Linked DNA regions of Homo sapiens: regions 1, 2 and 3 are each linked to region 4. The links are contacts of gene promoters, found by promoter capture Hi-C in blood cells and fetal thymus (Javierre and others, 2016). All regions are on one chromosome and are shown on one strand. The core of a region is centred on a gene start or on the middle of the fragment in contact, and the rest is flanking DNA. Distances in the headings are between cores, read along the strand shown. Region 1 holds the start of CCDC82 (coiled-coil domain containing 82). Region 2 holds the start of CEP57 (centrosomal protein 57). Region 3 holds the start of CCDC90B (coiled-coil domain containing 90B). Region 4 holds the start of CHORDC1 (cysteine and histidine rich domain containing 1).

Region 1 (3,386 bases), core at 1-2,500, 6.2 Mb after region 4:
CTCAAGAAAAGATTCATTCTAGAAATCACCTACTTGCTGTATAAACAATGCAGGTGGTAGTTAACACTTTACAGATTTGAAAGGCAGTGGAACCCCAGGTCATTATTTGAAATTCTACCAGGAGGGATCCATTCTTGGGTGTAAAACATCACTCCTCTTCGATGTTTTCTTTTATATGGCAGTTTGGAGAGCAAAGATTAATAAGCCGAAAAATAATTATTGAATATCTACCAAAATGCAAGCACCTGCTAGGAACTGTGCTGCCACCATTTCAAATAAACATGGTCTCTGCTCCCAAGGAGCTCACAATCTGATGAAATTACTAGGGACACCAAAAACAAGCCAGCATAATACACGATTTGAGGGCTACAGTGTATGATTAAGATCAAGTTCTTATCACACTGCTATGAATAAATTTATCATAGTTCTTCTATTGGCAGGAAAACAAGACAGAACATGACAGAAATAGGATATAAGAAAATAAACATAAAGAGAGGAAAGCCTATTTCCCCCACTTAGAATCACAGTCCAACAGTCCACAATTTCGCAAAGTGGATCCTGCCAGCATGGTATCCGGGATAACTATATTATTCATTAAAATCCGTTAACAATGAAGGTTAATGCAGCAGGAATGAGTGGTAGACAGTGGAATAGATCCTCTCAGGAATTAACACCCGGAAGGGTGACTTTCATGATTACAAACCTCTTTGGCGGGACGCAGGAACCCAGCGCCCGCTAGCCCACTAGTCCGTCACTCTGCCTCCAGGAGGGAGGGGCACAGTAGCTAGGAAACCGGACCCTCAGGCCAAGCTTCGCGATGACGCGCGCAGGACGACGGAAACCCCCAGACCCCAAAAGAGCTCTGCACCGAGAAAACAATTACAAGGGTCTGGAAAGGCCAGAAACCCGAGAAATCACCAACCGAGCTCCCTACATCAGTTCCAAGCACCTCCCCAAGGCGGAAATAACGGGCACCGCGCCCACTGCAGCTCAGCTGAGGAGGGTTAGAGGCGCAAAGGGCTGAGGGGCGTTCTCCGGCCCACCCAAAGAGCGCCCGCGGGAATTTTTCTCTTAGTCCGCGAGGAGGCACGGCTTCCCCCGCCCCTCTCATAAACCATTAGCACCGGGAGCGCGAGCGAGTCCCAGCCGGGAGACAGCCCCGCACCGCCCTCGCGCTCTCACCTTTCAAAGCGCCTCCACCTCTGCCTCCGCCTCCGCCCCTGCCCCGGCAACCAGCTCAGGACAAGCGATGCTCCTCCCCCCCTTCCGGGGACCAAGGGAAGTCCCGCCTCTGGGTGGGGCGAGGGGTGGGGCCAGGCGGCGGGAGGGATCATCTTCCGGGAGCGTGGCTAGGGGCGGAGCGACTGCCGCGCGATAGTCAGGGAGCTGTGCGGGTCCTGGTTGCAAGAGAGGTGGGGAGAGGGGCCTGGCGGGTTTTGAGGGACTGGGAGGACTGTCCCGGCTAAAGCTGGCGCGGGAAACTGGGGCTGCGCGGCGGGAGGGCCCTGCTGCTGGGGAAGGAATCTAATATATCCGTTCCCCTGAGGAAGGGTGCCAGTCCTTGACTCCTAGGCTCTTCGGCTCTCTGTCGTAACTTTGGGGTGTGGCAGGGGTTAGTGACGCGCGGTTACCCGGGATCTGGACGTGCAGGAGGTTCGTGGCCACAATGGGGGTATAGTCTTTCTCACGGCTGCTGGGGTAATAAAACACATGCTTTTAATCCGGATTATCCGCGGTGACATGGGGCCTCCGCTACTGCCCGTATAAGTTAAAGAAAGGCCTGTTCTCTCAAACTTCCTCCTCTTTCACCTTCTTCTGCAGTCTATTTGCCAGCCAACCCCAGCCCGGGAGGGGATCAGGGCCACCAGGTTGCTGGTAAGGATGAAAGACTGAGTGTGTTAAGACTGTTGAAGTGAGCCTGTGTAAGAGAAGGAAGGATTTTGTGGATTGCTACATTGTGAGTGTGGGGTGAGTCCCAGAACCTCGCTATGTCAGGGAAACGGAAGCGTGTGGTGTTGACTATTAAAGATAAGCTTGATATAATAAAGAAACTTGAAGACGGAGGTTCTTCCAAACAACTGGCAGTGATTTATGGAATTGGTGAAACAACAGTTCGGGATATAAGAAAAAATAAGGAAAAGATTATAACTTATGCAAGCAGTTCTGATTCCACAAGTCTTTTGGCCAAGAGGAAATCTATGAAGCCATCCATGTATGAGGAATTGGACAGGGCAATGCTGGAATGGTTCAACCAGCAAAGAGCAAAAGGGAATCCCATATCTGGACCAATTTGTGCAAAAAGGGCAGAGTTCTTCTTTTATGCTTTGGGAATGGATGGTGATTTTAACCCCTCTGCCGGTTGGCTAACTCGTTTTAAGCAGCGGCACAGCATTAGAGAGATTAACATTAGAAATGAAAGATTAAATGGAGATGAGACTGCGGTGGAAGATTTTTGTAATAACTTTCGAGATTTTATTGAACGAGAGAATTTACAGCCTGAACAAATCTACAATGCAGATGAAACTGGACTCTTTTGGAAGTGCTTGCCTTCTAGGATTTCAGTAATCAAAGGTAAATGCACTGTCCCTGGGCACAAATCAATTGAAGAAAGAGTCACAATCATGTGTTGTGCCAATGCAACAGGTTTACACAAACTTAAACTTTGTGTTGTGGGGAAAGCAAAGAAACCTCGCTCCTTTAAATCAACTGACACCTTAAACCTGCCAGTCTCTTATTTCAGCCAAAAAGGTGCATGGATGGATCTTTCCATTTTCCGACAATGGTTTGATAAAATTTTTGTGCCGCAAGTTCGAGAGTATTTAAGATCTAAAGGCTTGCAGGAAAAGGCTGTGCTCTTGTTGGATAATTCACCAACACATCCAAATGAAAATGTCCTAAGGTCAGATGATGGCCAAATATTTGCTAAATATTTACCACCTAATGTGGCCTCATTGATTCAGCCTTCAGATCAGGGAGTCATAGCAACGATGAAGAGAAATTATCGTGCAGGTCTTCTCCAGAACAACTTGGAAGAAGGTAATGACCTGAAATCATTCTGGAAGAAGCTAACTCTGTTGGATGCACTTTATGAAATAGCAATGGCATGGAACTTAGTAAAACCAGTTACCATTAGCAGAGCATGGAAGAAGATTCTCCCTATGGTAGAGGAGAAAGAGAGCCTGGACTTTGATGTTGAAGATATTTCTGTGGCTACTGTGGCTGCCATTTTACAACACACCAAAGGATTGGAAAATGTGACTACTGAGAACCTTGAAAAATGGCTTGAAGTAGACAGTACTGAACCAGGCTATGAAGTGTTAACTGATAGCGAAATCATCAGAAGAGCACAAGGCCAGGCAGATGAATCCAGTGAAAATGAGGAGGAG
Region 2 (3,700 bases), core at 1-2,500, 5.6 Mb after region 4:
TCTCAGCGCGCGAAATCCGCTTTGAACCTGCCCCGCCCAAAGGTCTGCGGTCGCGGCTATTTCTAACAGCCAGTCCCAGGTTTGGCTGAGAGCGCCCCAATCCAATTGAGCAAATGTTCGCGAAAGGCTCGTTCTCTGCCGCAACTTTTTTTCCCTTGCTTTCTATTGGACTAAATCGTTAAGTCCCTCCTAATCCTATTTGTTATTGGCCAAAAGGTAAATACTTCACCTGGAGAGGCGTCCCCGAGGCAAATTCACGCTCTCTCCGGCGTTTAATCCGAGGGAACTCGTGGAGTGCTTTAACTTCGCCTTCGCTTTTGTTTTATCTCCATTACTCCCTTCAGTTGCCACTGGCGACACCACTACTCGCCCACGCTTCTTACTGGAGGAGGCCCGACCCTCCGTAGAATCCCCGCAGAGCCGGCCTGTAACCCCGGCGTTGTCTGCCCCAGCGGGCCCCGTTACGCGCTACCTTGTGACGTCACCAGGGAAGAGGCGGATTCTCTCCTACTACAGAAAGACGTCTGCTGTTTTGATTGGCTAGGAAAGACGTCCGTTAGGACGTGTTGCCCTTTCTGTGTAAGCTGTGAGCGTAGGCGGCCCTGAGGGGGTGTGTTGCAGGGGTTTCCAAGCCCAGCACCAGCACCCTTGCCCTTTTCCATCAGGGGTTCAGCCTAGGGTCCCCGCTGGTGGGCGGCTCCCGAGTCTTGGAGAAGAGCACGAGAACCTAGACCGCCCCCGAAGTGCGGAGACCCCCTGGGCAGGCTGAAAGATGGCGGCGGCGTCTGTCTCTGCGGCTTCTGGTTCTCACTTGTCGGTAAGAAGCAGTTGGCGCGAGTGGGCCCCACGTCGGCCCTAAGCGCCTCTTTGAGTTTCCTCACGTTTCAGGGCGCTGTCAGTCCAGCTTCTGACGCAATTCTGGAGGTCGGCGGGAATGCCTAGATTGCCCCGCGCTCCCCAAGCTTCCATTCACTGTGGCTGTGTCGAAGCTGCACCCTCTGGCTCCCAGTGAAACTGGGCTGGCCGCCCCTGTTCCCCAGCCCTTATTCACCTTTTGGCGTAGCAACCAACCCCGGTTGCCTAACATTCCCAAGGGCCGGCTGGGATAACTGCCCACTCCCTGGCCTGCAAAAATGTAGCTCTTTTGGTCACGTGGGTTCAGCGGCCCCTCTAGGAAACTCGCCAGATCAGGTGAGGCGCGCCAGTGTGTTTAAGAGACGTTGCAGAATAGTAGTCCGCCGTCTCTCGAGCGCTTACTAGTCGTTGCTTATGCTGTTTCCTATCCCTGCAGTGCCTCCCACTCCCATCCACATTAACTTCGTTGTGTGATGCTCGTAGCCAGAACGCGCGCTTCCTGTCACCTAGAATTACTGGAACTTCAATGTGGAAATGCCCTTTTGGAGAGGCGACAGGGGGAATTGATTTTAAATATTGTTTTCGCCTCATCAAATGTCACCATCCAGTTTAGTTACTGGTATTCACTGGTATTTCTCAAATTGGAGTGTCGAATGCTTAGGTTTTTGAAAACCGCGGCATTGGAAAGCTTTGATAGGAAGTAAATGTTGGAGCTCTTATTTCTCCAGTTAGCAAATGTTCGATGCCTGGTATACTGTTAGGGTCCAAATGAACAGAATAGAAACCCTGCTTTGAAGGAGAAAAACACTGAAGAGAAACTACACGTAATTAGTGATTACTGCGCAGTATAGTTTAGGAAGTGCTACCGTAGTAGAATAATCTAGAGGGGAGTGATTAACAGTGCTTGGGTAGGCTAGAGAAGGTTTCCTAGAAGGGAAGATGGAGCTAGTTGCGTGTCGAAGGAATTGTGATTGCTTGTCCCAAGAGTAGAGAAAGGAGAAAAAGGCAGTGCGGGAATTTTGGAGTATGTGCTAGAACAGTAGGTGCTTTTAGGAAACTTGAGATAGTTCGGAATGAGAAGAAGTAATACGGAGGTAGAGCTGGATGAGGTGAATTGGAAACGTAGGTAAAAACGTGAAAAAAGAAGGATGGTGAGGGAAGGAACTAGAAGAGTATCAGGGTAAAGTTATTTTCTAGGATCTAGGGGGAAAGAGTTGGAAACGCTAAGAAAGCCTGGTCACCTTGGAGAAGTCAGTTTCAGCTTTTGGAGACTTGTTAGAATTTGTAATAATGGGACTAGAAGTATTACAGTGTTTCAGCCGAATGGGAATTAGAAGTTTGCAGAGAGGTCTGGGGAAGTTAAGGAGAAGTAAGGAAAGCAGCAATTTAAGGTTATTCAGGATTAGGTCAGTAAAAGAAAAAAGTAAAAAACTATTGGAAGTGTCAGCAGATGGATGAGATTTTATAGGAGATGTGATTAAACTTGGGAGAAGAGGGCTTTTCACGGCTCTCAAAAGTTAAGCACTTGGAGACCGAACAAGGAATACTCTTACAAATGTTGAATTGAGTCTGGGTGCGTGGCTCATGCCTGTAATACCAGCTACTAGTGAGGCTGAGGCGGGAGGATCACTGAGGCTGAAGTGAGGTATGATAGTGCCACTGCTCTCCAGCCTGGGCGACAGAGCGACCCTGTCTCCATAAAATAAAATATTAAATAAACGTTTAATTGAGCTGCACTATGCCAAGGACACCTAGGTGAGCATTGGCACTGGGATATAGTCAGCTGTTAATACTTATACGGTACCCTTGACAGAAATACCAAAGACTGTTCATTAGGAAAGCATATTTTTTTTGTGCTAAGCTCAGCTTTAATAGGATTCTAAATATCAAGGGTACACTAAGAATATCTAGGAACCTCCACAAATCAAAGTATAACAACCATAACTCAATCTGCTACATCAAAATGTCTATTTTGGAAGTTACTGTTTCTCAAAACAAAAATGACTAAATTTAGTTGGTTTCTTGGTGCGTAAGAAAACGTCCTGCTTAGATGTCCCATCAGAAATAAGGCTGCCATTTCCAACAGCGTTGGAAAAGCACTTAGCTTATCAAACAGCTGATCTTAACAGTAGGCAACATTTAAAAAAAAAAAAACTTGTTAAAACTATACCATGAACTGAGAACACAACTCGTATTCAGATTTCACGGTTATGAAGATTAACAACTGTTATATTCAACTGTTTTCGACATTGATAAACTCATACGGAGCTAGTTATAAGTACATTGAGATGCTTTACAGGCAAAGATTTTTAACAAGTAGATTCATAAATAACCGTCTTTGGGAAGCAGTGACCATGTAAATCTCAAATGTGAACAGCATGGAAGTAGGGCGATAGGTTTCAGTTAGGTTCTAGGTAACGTTTATTGAGTGATTGCTCTGGAATTGATAAACTTCGACTGGTGGAAAAGGCAGGAAAGCAACTATGATTGGGCATAATGAAATTAATTCCATATGGAGGTATGGGCAGCATTGTGTTGAAATACACAAGAATGTCTTTCATGTCAGCCTTGTAATATTTTCACAATAACCTTGGTGATTAATGACCTAATCTCTTGATTTGTCCCTCTGACTTTTGGTCCTTCGACCAAGCTGCACAGTAGCTCCATATTAATTTCCCTTAAAAATGTTTTATGGCTATCATACATTTTATAATATTAAATATAAGATTTACTTTTTGAGAATAATAAAATGAATACCTTCATGTTCCTCTGTGTCTTCTTTCTCCTTCCCACACCCACCCACTACCACGTATTTTAAGATTATAATGTATGGTATTTATATAGG
Region 3 (3,443 bases), core at 113-2,612, 6.9 Mb before region 4:
GTTTTGACTGCAGCTGTTACTGGTGTGGATTAAAATGAAACAATGAGCAAAATAGCACAAGTAACAATATGGAGTATAAATAACAGCGTAGAAGTGTTTGGGTACCGAATGGCTCAGCGTACCTGGCACTGAAGATTCAAGAAGGTGAACAGAGATAAGAGGTGCCTATTCGCCTATTTTGTGGACAACCTTAAAACGGTTTAAAAACTGGGAGGGAAGTTAAAAAACTGGGGGTGAAAAACAACGACGACAACAAAAACCTAGCCCTAGAAACATTTCTCTGAATAAAGTTAGATGTCTTCAGGACACCCTGTTAACAGGGGTGCCAACAGGTTGGAAACTTGTGGGTTCCAGTATTCACTTATTTTCCCAAAGTCTACAATGTGACTGAAATGTACTGAGAATTCCAGTGAGAATAAGGCAGACGTGGCCTGAAATTTATGATGCTGTCTACCAAAAACCTGGGCTCGAGGCCAGCACCTAAAAAAACAAAATCAAAATTTGATCAGGCCACAAAAGAAAACAGGACACCCTCAAACACAGATTACCTTACGTTGGCTCCTGACGAGATTACTAGCCTCTTGTCACCAAAAAACGGAAACAACGGCTGAGAAAGAAGCCGGGCGCGAAGCCCAGGCCTTCAAAGGTTCGCTTTAAGAACAGAAAGGCAGTGCTTTCCTCAGTCCTCGCCCCTTGGGGCGAGCTGGGCAAGTCGGGGCAGCAGGCAGCGGCGTCGCCCAGCACAAGGCGTGAATCCGGGAGGAGGGCGTGGCACCTTCTCTTCCCGTTCGCTCGAGCAGGCGCGACCCCACGGGCATCGTCTCCCTAGAGAGCACTCAGGCATCTATGACACGACGCCTTGCCTCACCTCTCCGCAGGGCCGGCGAGAAATGCCCGCGGGGCCTTGAAACCCAACGATCTCCTCTGCCTTGGGAGAGAAAGAGCCGCCAAGCCTGGCGACTATTCATGTCCTCAGAGTTTTCCGGTGGGAGGGAGGCGGAAGACGGGGTAAATCTCGCACAGGCTTTCGGGCAAGGTAGTTCTGGCACCACAGGAATGCTGGGAATTGTAGTTTTCGCTCTGTCACAAGCTCACCTCCCAGCGCAGGCGCCACCGTGGTCCCACGAAACTGGGTCTCTTCACAGACAGACCCACAGTTCGCGAGCATGGCTCAGCGCTGCCCCGCTTCTCCCAGCGCCCCTTCCCGACCTTTGAACGCCTTCACCGCCCTAGGAAAGCGAGATCTTGTCAGAGAACCTTCCGGCGCCTGTTTCCTGGCAGTGGGGCATAGTCCAACAGCTGGCTCCCCCAAGATAGCCAGCGGCCATTACGCGCTTGGGTCGGGGGAGATGGAGTCGCATTTAGCCGCACAGCAGCCTGGAACCTGAAGTTTTCGGCCGCTGAGCGTTCTGGGTGATTGCGTAGTGCGAGGGCCAACGAAACCTTCTGGGAAGTGTAGTCCAGCAAGCCGCTCACTTTTCGTGAGGCGTCACATCCTGCTGCTTCACCCTCTGGTGCACGGGAGGACCAACTATTTCAGTCGGTATGTCCTTTCTTTAGGGAAGCCGAATTCCTCCGTTTCTAGGAGAAATTCCTTGAATTTTCACCATTTATCCTTCTCAGACCTCAGTTACTCAAGACTGCTCCGCATAGTAAAATGCTGAAAGCAACAATGCACAGTAGTTGTATTAAAATGCACTAATACTCATGAATATTCTCTGTAAGTTGTAAAATGGCACACAGTTGTGCGGTGTTAGTGGCTTACTCTCTCAAGATTCTAAACAATTACGGCTAGGTTTCTATCTATATGTATTCAAAGCTTTGTGAGAGTCAACTAAGTAACAAACACCATTTCTAAGGCCCGAAGCACATTGAAAGAACAAAACTTGATTCCCGCCAACAACTGCTTTAACAGACAATTCATGAAGAGGAAATATAAATTGCTATTTAAAACACTGGGATGGCTGGGCGTGGTGGCTCATGCCTGTAATTCCAGCACTTTGGGAGGCCGAGGCGGGCAGATCACCTGAGGTCGGGAGTTCGAGACCAACCTGACCAACGTGGAGAAACCCTGTCTATATTAAAAATACAAAATTAGCCGGGCGTGGTGGCACATGCCTGTAATCCCAGCTACTCAGGAGGCTGAGGTAGGAGAATCGCTTGAATCCTGGAGGCGGAGGTTGCAGTGAGTCGAGATCACACCATTGCACTCCAGCCTGGGCGACAGAGTGAGACTCGATCTAAAAAAAAAAAAAAAAAATTGGGAAAAAAGTTTGATCTTACCAGTTTCAAAATACAAAACGCAAAACCTTAGGGTATATCGAGGTTAGGGGTCCCAATGATCCCAACAGGATGTAAGCATAGTACTCAACAGGTGCTTTTTCAACCCATGCCCCTCTGTCCGTCTCCCCCTTTCCTCATCTAATGATCCTCAATGCCTGTTGTTTCCACGTTTACCATCATATATTCAATGTTTAGCTCCTACTTATAAGTGAGAACATGTGTATTTGGTTTTCTGTTCTTGGCATTAGGTTGCATAGGATAATGGCTCCAGTTCCATCCATGTTGCTACAAAGAGTATAATTTCCTTATTTTTATGGCTGCATTATATTCCATGGTGTATATGTACCACATTTTCTTTATCCAGTCCACTGTTGATGGGCACTTAGGTTGATTTCATGTCCTTGCTATCGTGAATGGCACTACAATGAACATACGGTTGCATGTGTCTTTTTTTTTTTTTTTTTTTTTTTGGCTTGAGGCAGGGTTTTGCTGCGTCACTCAGGCTGGAGTGCAGTCGTGCATGGCTCACTGCAGCCTCAACTTCCTGGGCTTAACTGATCCTCCTGCCTCAGGCTTCCAAGTAGCTGTGACTACAGGTGTGCACTACCACAACTGGCTAATTTTTGCATGTTTTGTAGAGATGGGGTCTTGCCATGTTGCCCAGGCTGGTCCAGAACTCCTGGGCTCAAACTATCCACCCGCCTAGGCCTCCCAAGTGCTGGGATTACAGGCATGAGCTGCGGTGCCCAGCTCTGTGTCTTTTTGATGGCATGAATTATTTTCCTTTGGGTATATACCCAGTAGTGGGATTGCTGGGTTGAATGGTAGTTGTATTTTAAGTTCTTTGAGAAATCTCCAAACTGCTTTCCATAGTGGCTGAACTAGTTTGCATTCCCATCAACAGAGTATAAGCATTCCCTTTTCTTCACAGCCTAACCAATATGTGAATTTTTTTTCTTAATAATTGCCATTCTGATGGGTGTGAGATGGCATCTCATTGTAGTTTTGATTTGCATTTCTCTAATGATCAGTGGTGTTGAGGATTTTTTCATGTTTGTTGGCTATTTGTATGTCTTCTTTTGAGAAGTGTGTGTTCATGTCCTTTGCTCATTTTTTAATTGGATTGTTTTATACTTCTTGGTTTGTTTAAATTCCTTATA
Region 4 (3,772 bases), core at 706-3,205:
AAAAAAAGCATTTAGTGTAGATTAAGAAATATTTAAAGATGACAGATCCAACATCTGGCTTACGCAAAATGGAACTTGCTTGTGTATTTACCTCTTTTAACTTATTTCTGTCAACTGTACAAGGTCAAACCTCTTCCTAAAAAACCTCCTAACCAACCTTTCTATTTAGTTCTTGTCTCCTACTCCGTATCTCCATTTTCTTCTCCTTCCATTCACTCAATCAGTTTACTTGAAAAATGTATTCTAAGTCTCTAAAAAAACCGTCATTTCGCTAAAGTAAATATACTTATTGGAATTTCTCTGCTGTAACTAGTACTGCTGACCACCCAAGTTTTGAGACGGTTTTCCTGGTCGCTTTCTGTTTCCTAGGCACTGCACCAATTCACACATGGATACAGACTTCCAACAAATGACTATCGCCCCTGAACTTTATTGTCTCATAAGCAAAGCGTCAGTCTTTCCCCTGTATTCTATATTAAAGTAGAATATCTGCAGACATAAGTGCAATTAATGTTTTACATAGGCTGCCAACACCAAAGGGCTTTAAAATCGTTTCTCGATTTTGTCATCGACTGAAATCTCACAATTTTCCTCATGAGTAGCATCATATTTGCATCATAAAAATGTCAGTGGCGGTAACTTGAGTATTGCATAGGTTGGATTTTCCTTTTCCTTAAAACTCTGTATCAATGGTCTTATTTTAAATAACGCTATCAATTTACCTGTGTGCCAAAAATAAGTATTTCAAACATCTCAGAGGTGAAGAGTTCAAAAGGCATCAGTTTTCATCTCCTCCACAATAATGAAGGATGTTATTAATACAACCTCATTGAACTGAGCTTCTCTATCAAATGGGTCTAATTAACATTACATGCGTCCCAGGGTGGTTATGAAGATTAAATAAGATAAAGCAATAATGGCTGGCATGCAGAAAATATAAACTAAATGCTAGTTCAATCTGAAAACGTGTTGTCACTTCTCACGATACGCAAGGAATCATCTCACTTCTTTGTCAATCAAAATTTCAATTCACTGATCATTTCCCGTCCTTCACCTAATAGTCATTTTCGCTTTGGATCCTTAACTCGACATCTAGGTGCTGTAGATGACATTCACTCATTTTATACGGGAGTAGGCATGGTAGTAAAACGTGGAGGCCACAAGAAGAACAAGCAACAAATGCCGCTAGTAATAAAAAGATAACTAACGTACCACCAGGATGAACCTATCAAAACAGCGTGAAGATACAGAGTAATGTCCCTTACCAAGAACACTTGTAAGAGGTTTGTAACAGCGGATCGACTGAACACAAACTTCTACAAGGCAGAGCTTACATGCTAGGACAACCCGCTGCTCATCCCGGCCACCTCTCCCTCTCGCGCAGGCAATCACAGCCATCACTACTTCGGGAACTACAAAGCAAGCTCACCAGTACCTCGTTAATTTTTGCTTCCCCAGAGACTGGAGGGCCAGAGGAGAAACGTGTTCGTTCTAAATTCCAGGCGACTTAAAAGGAGTGCGGGGACGACGGGGGAAACACGTGGATCCATGGGAGCGTCTCTCTCCGCAGTGGCAGAGGACAGTCAGGCGCCGGGGCCGGGCGCTCGCCAAGGGAACGCGGCGCAACAGAGGGGCGGCCGGCGGGCTGCGCGGGCAGCCAAGGGAGGCCCAGGAGGGGCATGGACCTGGGGCCGCGCGAGGACGGCTGCAGGAGATCCGCGGACACCCTCCGGCCCAAAGGGCCTCCCCTGCTGATGAGGTGGAGGGGAGGGAGGGCTGGCGGCGCGTTCCTCTTACCGTCGGAATTGGTCTCAGGATCGAAGCGCTGACCGCAGCCCCGGTTGTAGCACAGCAAGGCCATTTTCTTTTCCCACCGTCACAGGCAAGGCCCAAACACCGGGAACGGCAAGAGGATGCGTTTGCCACTCCCGTGTCGCTAGCACCGGTCTGACGACTGAGGCGGCTACCGGCTTCCGGAAACGATCCGTTGCGTTTCAGGAACCTTCGCGAATTTTCCGGTCGCGCAGGCGCAGAGGAGAAGGGACGAGGCGGAGGTAGCGGCGGGAGGCTGGCACTAGCCCGGGCCACGATAGGTCGGACTACAGCTGGTAGCAACTGGGGGTCGGAAGTGGAGCCCAGACAACAGCGGAGGAGAAATTTCCGGGGCAGAAAATGAAGGTGTCCGAGAGACTGACAATTCTCTTCTGACTTCCTCAGTGCTAACTGGCTTTGGGTATCTCCTGCAGCAAAGTGGCCGCCCCGCCCTCTCATCCCCTGCGACCCAGCACCCTTCTTCCTTGCCTTGAGGCTGCGCCTTAGACAGCCCGGTGGGTATCTGTTTACCCCTTAGCACTAAGGGATAAGTGCACAGTAAGTGCAGAATCATACAGTGTTTCCAAATCCTCAGGGTAGACGTGTGAGCTTAGTAAATGAGAGGAATAGCGGACGAACCTCTCCGTGTGTTTGTGTCTCGAGTGCCCTCATCTCAGGAGCAATTTTAATAACTTAACAGTTGCGGTCACATTACTTTGAAAATACAAAAAACGTAGAAATCAGAGTAGCAAAGAAAATTATGGATCTGATGCTGTGCCAGAATTGATCACAGTTGCTCTAAAGCCCTGGGGTAATAGTTAATATTTCATGTGAGCCTCCACTTAAACGATTTATCAATACTCAGTACACCACTCTTGGAACAGCTAGTAAAACTTCAGGTGCATTATAAAAAGTACAGTAATGCATTGGCTTCAACTTGCATATTTCCCAAACATGGGCGTTTGCAAGAAAAGCAAACACTTTTTGATAACATATACTGAAGGATCTTAAAATAAGATCAGCAGCTTATAAGTGAACCTAAAAATCTATACACTGTTTCCATTGATCTCAAGGTTATTTAGAGATCTGCTCACGTCCTCCTACCCCTAAAGACTTTTTAGTTTTTCATATTCTCTTTCTCTTCTTCTACCTAGAAGTATTAAATTTTCATATTGTGATCCACCATAGATAGGTATGTTTTCTTCATTTAACCTAACGTGAGTATTTTTCTATTTTGTTTCATAGTCATTGTTACAAATGACGGAGTATTCTGTTGAATAAATGCACTGTAATTTAACCTTTCTCTAATTTCCCCAACTTTATTATATATAAGTTACAGTGCTCAACCTGTGTATTGTTTTTCTTATTTCGAATTTCCCCCTTTAGGAAAATTTTTGGAAAGCGACAGTTCTGGGGTAAAGGGCATAAGGCTTTTTAAATAACTTTAAGATTTTAAAGATATATAGAGCCAATTGCTTTCCGAAAGGTGGTACCAATTTACAATTGCACCGGCTGTGAATGTAATAGACCGTAGAAATTGATCATACACAATTGGAAATGAGTAAGTGGAGAGCTCTAAAAAGTTTTAGTTGTGACCAAATCTGTTGTCTTGAGTATCCTAGTATCAATGCAACATTACCAGGATTGTTAGTGAACTAAACCTTTTAAATAATTTTAATGTTTATTTCTAGTTTTTCATCTGTAGCATTTTACAATCAGAATATAATTGCTTATGGTAGATAATTTGGAAAACGCAGAAGTATACTAAGAACAAAGTCAACAATAATTCCACCACCCAGCAATAAGTACTGAATGGCTAAAATAACTCTTTGGTAAATTTATTTTCAGTGTTTCCTGACACCCCAAGCATTTATAGATATATATGTTTAAAAAGAGTCGTGTTATATATAGGAGTTTATGTTCCTCCCTTGGGTATTTTGAGAAACTATAAAATTAAATC

What was found. Contacts are between HindIII fragments. The CHiCAGO score rates a contact against its expected background, and 5 or more counts as called.
Region 1: the fragment with the promoter of CCDC82 here is called in contact with the fragment with the promoter of CHORDC1 in region 4 in 2 of 17 cell types (fetal thymus and total CD8 T cells); the score reaches 7.0 in fetal thymus.
Region 2: a fragment that was not itself captured here is called in contact with the fragment with the promoter of CHORDC1 in region 4 in 1 of 17 cell types (non-activated CD4 T cells); the score reaches 5.3 in non-activated CD4 T cells.
Region 3: a contact is called between the fragment with the promoter of CCDC90B here and the fragment with the promoter of CHORDC1 in region 4, in 1 of 17 cell types (non-activated CD4 T cells). The highest score is 6.3, in non-activated CD4 T cells.

The regions. Positions count from the first base shown.
Region 1 is chr11:96,388,662-96,392,047 of GRCh38, forward strand. CCDC82 (coiled-coil domain containing 82) reads right to left here and starts at 1,251. Exons shown (of 10, transcript NM_024725.4): 1 at 1,183-1,251. It overlaps JRKL (JRK like), which reads left to right and starts at 1,352. Exons shown (of 2, transcript NM_001261833.2): 1 at 1,352-1,412; 2 at 1,822-3,386. The coding sequence starts at 1,989. RefSeq lists a silencer at 1,165-1,424. The HindIII fragment of the contact is 1,223 bases long and covers 809-2,031 here.
Region 2 is chr11:95,789,927-95,793,626 of GRCh38, forward strand. CEP57 (centrosomal protein 57) reads left to right here and starts at 572. Exons shown (of 11, transcript NM_014679.5): 1 at 572-817. The coding sequence starts at 773. RefSeq lists enhancers at 384-853, 817-1,480. The HindIII fragment of the contact is 581 bases long and covers 961-1,541 here.
Region 3 is chr11:83,285,005-83,288,447 of GRCh38, forward strand. It overlaps CCDC90B (coiled-coil domain containing 90B), which reads right to left and starts at 1,363. Exons shown (of 9, transcript NM_021825.5): 1 at 869-1,363. The coding sequence starts at 968. It overlaps CCDC90B-AS1 (CCDC90B antisense RNA 1), which reads left to right and starts at 1,116. Exons shown (of 3, transcript NR_186344.1): 1 at 1,116-1,543. RefSeq lists enhancers at 136-732, 621-700, 733-1,328, 751-1,400. The HindIII fragment of the contact is 4,800 bases long and covers 1-1,817 here.
Region 4 is chr11:90,221,094-90,224,865 of GRCh38, forward strand. It overlaps CHORDC1 (cysteine and histidine rich domain containing 1), which reads right to left and starts at 1,956. Exons shown (of 11, transcript NM_012124.3): 1 at 1,798-1,956. The coding sequence starts at 1,861. It overlaps LOC124902812 (a long non-coding RNA gene), which reads left to right and starts at 2,066. Exons shown (of 2, transcript XR_007062978.1): 1 at 2,066-2,327. The HindIII fragment of the contact is 11,072 bases long and covers 1-3,772 here.